Regions from separate parts of the Homo sapiens genome. Here all the other regions are linked to region 3. Evidence: promoter capture Hi-C in 16 types of primary human blood cells and fetal thymus (Javierre and others, 2016). All regions are on one chromosome and are shown on one strand. The core of a region is centred on a gene start or on the middle of the fragment in contact, and the rest is flanking DNA. Distances in the headings are between cores, read along the strand shown.

Region 1 (2,840 bases), core at 89-2,588, 400 kb after region 3:
AGTTTTTGTTCACTAGAATTGCCTGGATTCAGAGCTCCTTCCCCACCTTTCCAGGTATAGCATGAAGCTGTTTGGTGTGTATACAAAGCTGCAGGATTCACTCTTCCGGGGCACAGATGCCTGAGAAACTTCAGAGAGGCAGAAGGCGTGAGTCTGAGCAGCCATCATCTGGGCATCAAGGGGTTAACCCATCCCTGAGGGCTGGGCCAGGTCTTTTCCTCGGACTGGGCCCCGCCCTCCGGTTCCTCCATAGAAGCCACTGGAGTCAACTAGGAGCTCACTTTGTGGGAGGGAGAAACGTTTTTTTCTCTTATTTGAATGGTGCTGGTGACCTCACAAGGTTTCCATGGTGACAAGACCAAGGGAGCCAGGGGGCCTTGGTGAATTAGGCCAAACAAACCCACCTCCAAGAGTCTTCTCCCAGACTCCAGCCTTGAGGATGAGGACTCCAGGTAATCAGTGAGCTTGCTGAAGAGGGAAGGTTGGGGGCTGGGGACATGCCAGGCCAGGACCTGCAACAGAAACCGCCGCCCCACCTTTCCTTTCTGTGCCCCACCCCATCCTGCCTAAAAAGTTGCTTTCCATGAGGGCTTGGTGCTGAGTGTGGCCCCCACAGGGATGTCTGTGTGGTCACAGAGTACCTGTGGGAGGGCAATTCTGACCCCAAGGTAGGAAGCAGTGATCCGGTAATTCCAGGCACCAAGGCAGATAAAAAGACCAAGGTAGGTGAACAGCAGAGTAGAGGCCTGGGTGTGAAAGGAGAAAGCCATGAGCATCTGGTTGGGAGTGGGAGCCCTGCTCTCTGAAGCTTGACTTTCTCAGGAGCAGCTGGGGGCTGGAGCTTGGGAACACAGGATCATGGGATCCAAGTGACCAGGGTTTGAAACCAGGCATAAATAATGCCTGCACTCTATGGTTGTGGCCTACATGGGACATCACAGGGAAAGCACCGAGTAGGTGCTCAATATGTGTTTGTTTCCTCCCTCCTTCCCTTCCTCTCCTCTCCACCACTCAACAGCCACAGCCTCCTCAAGAAGTTTGAAGTCTGCATTGAACTCATTAATTTCCAGCTTTTGGCCGGGCGTGGTGGCTCATGACTATAATTCCAGCACTTTAGGAGGCCAAGGTGGGCGGATCACCTGAGGTCAGGAGTTTGTGACCAGCCTCACCTACATGGTAAAGCCTCGTCTCTATAAAAATACAAAAATTAGGCGGGCATGGTGGTGGCCACCTGTTATCCCAGATTCTTGGGAGGCTGAGGCATGAGAATTGCTTGAACTTGGGAGGTGGATGTTGCAGTGAGTGGAGAACATGCCACTGTGCTCCAGCCAGGGCAACAGAGCGAGACTCCGTCTCAAAAAGAAAAAAAAATTCCAGCTTTCAATTATTTGATCCTCACATAATTCAATGTCTAAAATATTGTACTCCTACATATTGTCCTAAAATTCTACCATGGAAGCTCCAACCATTGCTTTGCATGAAATCTCCTTGTAAATGGCAACATCTTATCTGGAAGTAATTGTCTTTTCCCTGGACAGGGGCAGTTGTATGAGTGGGTGGGGAGCAAATGGGGTGGGGTGGGGTGGGAGGGTAGACGGGGGGAATGAGTGATGTCTTGTTTGTTTGATTTTTGTTTTTTCTTTTTCTTTTTCTTTCTTCTCTTCTCTTCTCTCCTTTCCTCTTCTCTCCTCTCCTCTCCTCCTCTCTTCTCTTCTTCTCTTTTCTTCTCATGCAGATGGGGCCCATGAGTGAGGAGGACAAGAGAGAAAGGAGAAGTTTGGGTGTAAATCCCAGAGATTGTTCATCATGTGAGAGGAGCCGTGCATGCATTTCATGCCATACTCACACCATGGATGGAGAAAAAAAATCAAGCTTCACTTTCTGAGAATGGCCCTGGGGGCACTGCATCTAGTGCCTGTGCATCTGCAGACCTGCCGGATGCCTCCAGGGGAATCATGCCACCCCAAGCAAGAAAGGGCCCAGTTGCCAGGAGCCTGGAGGCAGAGAGCTGAGGAGCCAGCCCCTGACATCAGAATGGAGCTCAAAGGTTGGCTGGGTGTGACTCTGCCGTGGACAGCTTCTCTTGGGAAATCTACTTTAATGAATCCAGGGGACCAATTTGTAATCAGCCCATCAGATGTTCAGCGACACTTAGCTGGAATCTCGTTGCTGGACTCTGTGCCCCGCAGTGGATGACAGTTCTCCATCAGGGTCTGCAGTCCTCTACCCTGGACTTGCTGCATCCTGGAGCCCCCAGCAGTCAGGTACCGGCTCTCAGAACTGCCTGCATCCCATTGGCCTGAGCTGCTGTCTGCCAGGGCTGCTGGTAACCAGGCCCACAGGGTTGGATATTCCCCCAACAGGGCAGCTCCCAGTCCAAGCCCAACTGTTACCAGCCCAGAAAGATGTTTCAGGATACCCCTTTCCTCCCCACTTCCCTGCCCTCTGCAGCTCCAGCTGGTGCACCCCATCTTTCTCTCCCCCTCCCTGCTAGGCTGGGCCCTAACAGGAGACCTTTGAGGTGGTTGGGCTTGTTCTGCAACCTTGAGTACCCTTGAGCTACTGCCTCACTCCTCAGTTTTCTTCTTCTTAAGGTTTCTAATTGGACTTTGCCAGTGTATTTATTTCAAAACTGGTCATCTTACTGACCTCGCTCATAGTCTCTTATTACTTTTCTAGTTGATTCTCTTGAGTTTTCTGGATAAACAATAATATCATGTACAAATAATGATGACAATTTCTCCTCCTTTCCAAATGTTGTGTTTCCTTTTGTGTATTAATGTACTCTTGCCTTGGCTAAAACTTCCAAAACAATGTAAAATAATTGTGTTAATAGCAGG
Region 2 (2,700 bases), core at 87-2,586, 490 kb after region 3:
AGAACCCAGACTAAATTTCTGACCCACAGGATAATAAGTTAAATGAATATTATGTTAAGCCACTGAATTTTGGGGACTTTGTTATACAACAACAGTGACTGAGGCCAAGGTGACCAGCCTTTTGAAGGGCAGGCTCATCCACAATGGTTCCCACGATGGGCTGGCCATCTGAACAGGACCATCACTCCTTCAGCATTTCCACTGCCCCCTCTGCCTCAGCCACCTTGGGCTCTACGAGACCTCACACATGTCCTGTGTCTTTACACAACCTGTTCCTTCCTCCTGGAAGACCCATCCTCATCTTGTCCTCTGAATCCTGTTCACTCTTTAAGACCAGCTCATACCCTGAAACCTTTGTAGGTTCACAGCCTCTCTGCCACCATCAATCTTTTGGGAATGAAGTAAGGTATAAGTGAGTAAAATCCCTCCCCTTCTGTCTCCTGTCTTCCTGTATCCCCCTTTGCTCTGCTGGTAGCTTTATTGCAGCACATCCCCTTTCATAGTTACCAACCCATGCCGTGGCTCCTGAACACTAAGTAGGGAGGAAGGCCCAACTGAGAGAGTGGCTCTCACGTAATCCTGGGTCTCCCCAAGCCTCAGCACTAGCCGGGTACCCAAAAGTATCCTGGGAGGGGGCAATGAATAAAGATGAACAAACTTTCCATCTACTGATTTTAGAACAATGAGACATGGTACTATGTAAAAAACCCACATTGAAATTCAAAGACCTGTTTTCAGTCCCTACCTTGCCCTGCAACATTTGCCAGGGGCTTGCCCCCCTCCGAGCCTCAGTTTCCCATCTGTATAATGAGGGGCTGTGCTGACTCATTTCCCACCCCCCCCGCCCCCCCCACCCCCGTCAGGGCTGAGCATCTGTGGAGTGTGCTCAGGTATCCGGTCCTCCGGTTGCCAGCTCTGGCCTGGTTCCTCACTGGCCTGGGTTGTGTGACAAAGCTTCCCACCTGCCAGCAGCCTGGCCAGTCCTTTGGATAGTGGTGGCTAATGAGCTGGCCTGGGTTCTTTTGACTGCCAGCATCTTCCACTTTCTGAACCTGCCAGTGGGATAAGGAGGCCTTGGTGTTGGGAGACATCTCTTCTGAAAGCTCTGCTGGTCAAGGCTGGGTCCCTGCCTGTCTGATTGGGGAGGCCTGGCCAGTCTTCAGGAAATTCACACACACACACACACACACACACACACACACACACATCATCCAAGGCTCTCTCCTGGAAGCTTCTGATGGGCTCCTAGGAAGGAATGCTGACTGGCTGTGTCTTCCTCCCTTGGCATCCCCTAGAGTCAGGTAAGAAGAGGACAGAGAAAGGGAAAATGGGCCAGTGCAAAATTAACCACACAGAGAAAGACTTTTCCACTCCAGCTCACTGAAAACCAGGATGAAAGATCTCAGAAGCTGGAATCCAGCCAGGTTCACACCTAGGGAGCAAAGCTTCCTGGGGTACAGTGCAGGAAGGGAGGCTAGATCTGAACTAGAGCTTCTCCTCCAGCCAGTATTATCACTGCTTACTCAAGGAGGTGGGAAAGCTCCAAAGATGCTCACCTCATGCATCTCCCTGGCATACCAGGAAGAAGCCTGGGGCAGAAGTCCATGGTGTCTCTGTGGCCCTAGGGTAGGGCTCTACTGCAGCCCTAGGGTAGAGAGCTAGGCCACTGGGGCTTCCAGATTGCACCCATCACAGACAGTGAGCGGCTGACGCGATGCCTCTCTGGCTCTACCTCCTCCCTCGTCTACCCCTCTTTCCAGCAGATAAACTTGAAGGAAGCAGGGAGAGGCTGTTTGTGGATGCAGAGTGGCTGCTCACTCACTGCTCTGTTCTCACACTATCTCCTCGAACCCCACCCCTGTGAATGCTAGAGGCAAAGACTAAGAGGCTGAAAGTCCGGAGCCTTGGCTTCTAGTCTGGGTGTTTTCCCTTGATATCTTTGTGACCTTGGAAGGTACAGTGCTTCTTTTGGACCCCTGGATATTTCTTCTGCAGGTAAGAGGTAATAACTCCCACTGTCAAATGGCCGCAGGATGGAAACCTTCTGAAACCATCAAGTTCTTTATACAGATGTTTTCATTATTGAGTCCAGAGAGGTGGTCCCCAATGTGCTTGAGGCCTCACTGTCCCCTCTTTGCTGGCCTCTTTGCAGCCTAGGCTTTGAGAAACATGGCCAGGACCTGGCCTCTCCTCCCCGCCTCATGTTCCCCGGCCAGCTGCCCCAGTGGTCCCTGCACAGGTTCAGCACCTGCTCTGAGCCCATCCTGGAGCAGGGCTGTCAGGGGAGGGACCTTCCCTCCAGCTCTCTTCCTGGGTACAGAACCACCCAGAGAAGAGCGACAGGCTAGAGCAGGACAGAGTGTGAGCAGGAGCTGTTGTGTGGAGAGTAGATGCTCAGAGAAGGGAGAGGGTGGCACAGAGGAGTAAAGTTCCTCTCCAATCTGTCTCCAAATGCTTGTATCTTCTACAGTCTATACTACCCATGGATTTCAGGTGGAGAGAAAGACATCTTTCTGACAGTGAGAGTTGCCTGGGAGTGGTGGAAGGAAGCATCCTGTCGATGAGGCTTTTTTGCTGAGTGTGTGGGGGCTTGTGCACACAGAAATACTATTTATAGCTACCTTTTAAAATTTAATAGGCAATTTATTAAGGATACACATATAAAAACATAGCTTTTTAGAAGGATTAAGCTCCACTTAC
Region 3 (2,700 bases), core at 46-2,545:
TCCGGGAGGATCTGGTCGCCGGCAGCCGCGCCTCCCTCCACTTTGATAGCGGTGTCCACCGAGGGCTGCTCGCAGGAGGCGGAGGCCGGCTGCGGTGGCTGCTGGGGCGGCGGCGGCGAGGCTGCGGGCTGCGCCGAGGCGCCGGGGCGCTCGGGCTCGGCCGCCAGGCCTGGGGGCGTCCTGTCCTCGCCGGGGGACGCGTCGCCCTCGGCGATGAGCCGCCGCTCCTCCGCGGAGTCATGCAGGTGTCCGTGACTGCTGCCGCTCCCCGTGCCGCCGCTGCCGCCGCCCCGGCTGCCCAGCGAGGCCAGGCTCCCGCGGAAGCGCCTGCAGTCGCCGTTCGTGCTGGACTTGCCCGCGCCGCGGGCCGGCCCTTCGCTGTCCGCTGCCCCGAGGGCCGAGCTCCGGGACTCCGTGCCACCCGCGGCCGCCGAGGGGGAGGGCGAGGGCAGTGGCCGCAGCCGGATGCTCCTGCGGCTGGGGTCTTGGCGGCCCCCGGCCCCCTCCTCCTCGGCGTCCTCTTCCTCGTCCATGATCCACGCCTTGGCCCCCACCTGCTGCGGGAGGCTGTAGAGCCGCTTGCGCATGGACGGCGGCAGCTTGTCCATGGCGCCAGGGGCCGGGGTCGGACCGGGCCGGGGGCAGGAGCGCGGCGCCGCGGACGGGCTCCAGGTCCGCCCGCCGGTCAGTCCGCCCGTGGGGACGCGTCCTTTGCCGCCGGCGTGGGGGCAGCCTCAGGCGCCCATGCTTGGGCAGGCTGCGCGCCGCGGGGAGGATCCTAGTCCCGCTCCGAGTCCCCGGGCTCGCCGCGCTACACCTCCTCCCGGGCCCGGCTGGGCGCGGGGACCCCGCGCTCCCTTCTTGCCTCCCTCCCTCCCTCTGGCGTTCAGGGGCGCGGCGCGCCGCCCGGCTCCAGGCGCCCCGCCCCCGCGGGGAACAATGGGCGCCGGCCGGAGAGGCTCTGCGGCCGCGGCGCTCAGGGAACCGCTCCGGAGTGCAGAGCGCACGGCCCGCGCGGGTCCCGGGCGTGCGTCCCGCGGGAGGGCTGGCTGTCCGTCTGTCTCGCCGCCCGGGCTTTGTGGCTGGCCACCCGCGAGCTCGCCTCGCCTCCTCTGCCCCGGCCCGTCCGGCCCGTCCCGGGGCTCCCGCCGCAACCGAGCGGAGCCCAGCGACCCGCCGGGCTTACATCAGCGGCCGCCTCCCCCGAAGCGCCCTCCGGCAGCGCTCGGGCTCCCGCGCCCCGGAATATTCATGAAGCCGCCGCAGCTCGCGGGTTGCCATAGGAGCGGCTCCAGCAGCCGGGCCTGCCTACCTGGGCTTCTTAAAGGGGCAGCGGCGCACGGGCCGGGGGCTGGAAAGGGGCGGGGGGCGGGCCTGGCAAGGGGCCCAGGTTAGACCCTCGCTAGACCTTCGGGGCCGGGGTGAGAGGTATCCACACTGCTGCGCCCTTAAATCTCTTTCCTGGGCTAAGCTGGGAGTGCGCCCCAAGTCTGAAGCTCCGGCTTCAGTTGCGAATTCCCCATCCTAAGATTGAAGGGTGGGGGGTGGCTTCCCAATTTCTCCATCACCAAGCTCTGGGCTCGCCTTTCCCTGGCATTTTTGCCCCTCAGCTGGGTCTCCGACTTTCCTCTTGGGAGGCGACCGGGTTCGTCTGGATGCAGAGTCCCGGCCTTCCCGCAACCCTCCTGGAGAGGGGGCTTCCGGAAATGCGCCGCGTCGGGGAGGCTCCCACGGTTTTCCTGTGACATGGGCAGGGTGCGAACCCCGCGCCAGTCTTTCCCCTGCAAAGCCTCGCAGCAGCCAGGCAAGGAGGGCGTGGGGAAACAGGGAGACACGCACAGGGCGCGCGGGTGGGACCCAGCCCTTCGAGGTAAGACTTCGAGGAAATGCGCCGGCAACAGTGACGGATGCGAGATCCGAACGCCGACCTCCGCACGCGCCTCTCCCTCGGTAGTTCCGAGAAAGGGACAAGCCGGCTGCAGCGGGGAGCGGTTGGGCCGGTTCCTCGGACGCCCCAGCACTCTGGAACTGGCTTTGGAGCCCCTTCTCCCTGTGTTCCCATCCACATTATGACACCTACTATGTGGACCCACGCTGGGTGAGTTCCTGTTCCACCCAGTCCCCTACCTGCACCCCCAAGCAGCTGCACAGCCCCCACTCCCTTCCAGTCTGCAGCCCAGCCCCCTTCCCCCCAACCCCCGCCAAGGATCCAACTGTGTGTCCTCTCTCCCAGTCTCTCCCAGTGTACAGTGTCCGGGCTTATGGACAGATTTCACTAGCTCAGCCTAAGGTATAGCCCTACCCCCTCCAACACCATGGACAGCCTGATACCCCAGATTAGCTCAGAAATGGATAGGGGGACAGATTGGGCATTAAGGGGAGGGGAGTTGTCCAGAGAAGGCTGGAGCCGAGGTTAATGCTGGAGCGGACACACAGCAAAGTCTCACAGGAGGGAGGCAAAAAGGTCCCCTGGCTCTGCCATCTCTCTGAGGAATAACATCAAGTTTTTCTTCAAATGATTTTTTTACTCTCATTCTTAGCCCAATGTGACCACTTTCGCCTCCTCCATCCAGAGTAGGAATTTGGAGAGCAGGATGCGGGGCGGGCAGCCTAGCAGGGGCTCTTCTGCTCTACCCACTGGACCACAGGACCTCCCACAGTGAGAGGAATGACTAGGGTGATGACATCACTGGTAGCTGG
Region 4 (2,700 bases), core at 198-2,697, 460 kb after region 3:
CCTCTGCTCCCAAAGCTGCCAGTCCACAAGTGCCATGAAGTGTGATGGTTTCTCTGACCTTTATTGCTCCTCAAAGGAAGAGGAGAACCCCCTCAGTCTCCTGAAGCAGGGCTAGGCCAGGGGGACGGCAGTGAGGGAGGGTGAACAGGACTGGTATAAATATTGCTTCTTTTCTTCTCCCCCATCCTGACTTCCTCCTTCTCCAAACCTTAGGGATACCATGTCCAGGGGCAGCTTCCTCCCACAGACCAGGGAGGCAGGGAGGTGCAGGGCAGCATTCCATCTGCCTTCTTCCCCTCTGTGAGTCCCACCTACCTCACCTGCCCCCAAATCCCAATCCTCAGAAGTGTCCACAGCACAGCTGCTGTCAGATCAAAACCTCTGCTGGACAGCTCCGCTGAGGCCCTTGTTGGGGAACTGGAGCTGTCATGGCTATGTCTGCCACAGGTCCCAATCCACAGCTGGTAGGAGCTGCAAAGTCCAGCCAGCCAGGACTGGTTTTTTATTTTTCTAATGAAAAATAAAAACAGACACCTTTGCAGGGAAGAAGACCAACCTTACTCTTAGAGCCAGGGCATTATGCCACAAAGTGGCCTTGTGCAACCCCAGGGCTTGGCTGTGTGACTGGAAGAGTCAGCCCTGACGGAAGCTTCCTTGCTATGCTTTCAGCTTACCTCCACTCTTCATCTTACCCAAGCACAGCTATGACCATGCCCCTCTCCGGTCAAAAGCCTTCAGAGGCCTTCAGACATCTGCTGGGTGAAATCTGAATGGGCTTCTTGGCATCAAAGGGCTGCCATACTCTGGTTCTAAGCCATCTTCACTCCTATCACAGATTACAGCCACACCTAGAAACCCACTCTTTCCCATACTTGCCCCTTGCTGCCAATCCTCAGGACCTTTGCACAACATTTGTTCTGTGTGGAGCACTCCACACTTCCCCATCTCCACCTGTAGAAACTCACTCTTTCCCTGGGGGACCTGGGATTCAAGGAGGACCATGGCCATGGGGGTCTGACACCACATCTGCCAATGCTCTCCTCTCTAATTTTCTCTCTCCTGTCTCCCTGTGCCCTCATTCCCTCCGCCACTCCTTTGGCTTCATTTTCCTGGATTCCATGAACACAATTGAATTATAGTCATTAGGTTGGAAGGGACGCGAGAGCTCCATGTTCTCTCACCTCCACCTAGATCAGTGATTCTCAAACTTTGGGAGAAATCAAATCAGCTGGATAGCTTGTTGAAACATAGATTGCTGGACCCCACCCTCAGAATTTCTGATTTGAGCGGCCTAGAGTGGAGTCCAAGAATGTGTATTTCTAACAAGCTATCAGGTAATGCCAATGCTGTTGGTCCAAGGAGCACACTCTAGGAACTGCTGACCTGGGTTTGGGCTCAGAAATTAACCTTGTATCTCTGTTTCCCCCGAAACAAAGGGTCCAATGCCAGCACACTTACTCTCTTGGTTTGGTACCCACTGATGGTTGTTGTGGCTCTTTTATCTATCTATTTTTTTTTTTTTTTTTTGACAGAGTCTTGCTTTTCGCCCAGCCTGGAGTGCAGTGGTGCAATCTTGGCTCAGTGCAACCTCCGCCTCCTGGGCTCAATTGATCCTCCCATCTCAGCCTGCCATGTAGCTGGAACCACAGGCTGTGTGCCACCATGCCTGCCTAATTTTTGTATTTTTTGTAGAGACGGGGTTTCTCCATGTTGGCCAGTCTGGTCTCAAACTCCTGACCTCAAGTGATCTGCCCGCCTTGGCCTCCCAAAGTGCTGGGATTACAGGTATGAACCACTGCTCCCGGGTGGATGTGGTTCTTGATAGGAAGGTAGGGCTTCCAGGCACCTGCCACTCAGAGCCCTGGGGAAAGTCTTGGGTTTCATTATTACAATAAATTCACTGACAAGAACACAAAATTCTTTGCAGGGAAAATAATCATAGTGATTCATAAAGAAACATACTGTAACAACATCAAGAGTGGTAATAATAGTAATAACATGATTGTAATATAATGTCATCTTCCCTAATGTGCTAAATCCAGATTGGTCTGAGCAATATAAAAGAATTACTGACATACACAAATGCTCAGAAAGTCTAGCTCAGACGTATTTGGGGCTATTTAGGTGATGGCAATGGTGATGATGACTGTAATAACAAACCACATTTGTACACAGCTTTAGTGTTTCTAAAGCACTTTTTACCAGTTTTATTTTAGCTGCCACTCTGGAAAGTAAGCGAGGTGGGTAAAGCTTCTTTGGTTCATACATGAGGCTCCCATGTGTTCCTCCTTTCAGGCCTCATTCAACAAACATGTGTTGTGTGCAGGTTAGGTACAGGACAGGGTCTGGGATAGGGTTGTAGACAAAATGCAAATTAAATATAAATTCAGGGTTGGGTGCAGTCACTCACGTGTATAATCCCAGCATTTTGGGAGGCCAAGGTGGGAGGAGGGTTGGAGTTCAAGATCAGCCTGGGCAACATAGCAAGACCCCCATCTCTACGAAGAGAAATTTTATTTTCATTGATTTTTAGTTTTTTCTGGCACTTAGTTCTGCTTCACACAAAGAAATTTTAAAAAATAAATAAACTCAATGCAGATTCAAATATCCATTAAAATGAAATTTGAATTTCAGAGAAACAACAAATCATTTTGTAGTATAACCATGTCAGAAATATTGCATGGGACATACTTAAACTAA

Evidence for each region. The method cuts DNA at HindIII sites, captures the fragments that hold promoters and counts their contacts. A CHiCAGO score of 5 or more calls a contact.
Region 1: a fragment that was not itself captured here is called in contact with the fragment with the promoter of HCN4 in region 3 in 2 of 17 cell types (M1 macrophages and endothelial precursors); the score reaches 5.7 in M1 macrophages.
Region 2: a fragment that was not itself captured here is called in contact with the fragment with the promoter of HCN4 in region 3 in 1 of 17 cell types (M2 macrophages); the score reaches 5.0 in M2 macrophages.
Region 4: a contact is called between a fragment that was not itself captured here and the fragment with the promoter of HCN4 in region 3, in 1 of 17 cell types (M2 macrophages). The highest score is 5.9, in M2 macrophages.

Annotation. Positions count from the first base shown.
Region 1 is chr15:73,767,735-73,770,574 of GRCh38, forward strand. It overlaps INSYN1-AS1 (INSYN1 antisense RNA 1), which reads left to right and starts at 352. Exons shown (of 3, transcript NR_120353.1): 1 at 352-452; 2 at 1,019-1,126; 3 at 1,736-2,068. The HindIII fragment of the contact is 1,064 bases long and covers 807-1,870 here.
Region 2 is chr15:73,858,441-73,861,140 of GRCh38, forward strand. No RefSeq gene overlaps it. Among named protein-coding and RNA genes, the nearest start is that of TBC1D21, 14 kb to the right of the region's middle. The HindIII fragment of the contact is 214 bases long and covers 1,230-1,443 here.
Region 3 is chr15:73,367,663-73,370,362 of GRCh38, forward strand. It overlaps HCN4 (hyperpolarization activated cyclic nucleotide gated potassium channel 4), which reads right to left and starts at 1,296. Exons shown (of 8, transcript NM_005477.3): 1 at 1-1,296. The coding sequence starts at 608. The HindIII fragment of the contact is 7,030 bases long and covers 1-2,700 here.
Region 4 is chr15:73,832,471-73,835,170 of GRCh38, forward strand. No RefSeq gene overlaps it. Among named protein-coding and RNA genes, the nearest start is that of TBC1D21, 40 kb to the right of the region's middle. The HindIII fragment of the contact is 1,601 bases long and covers 648-2,248 here.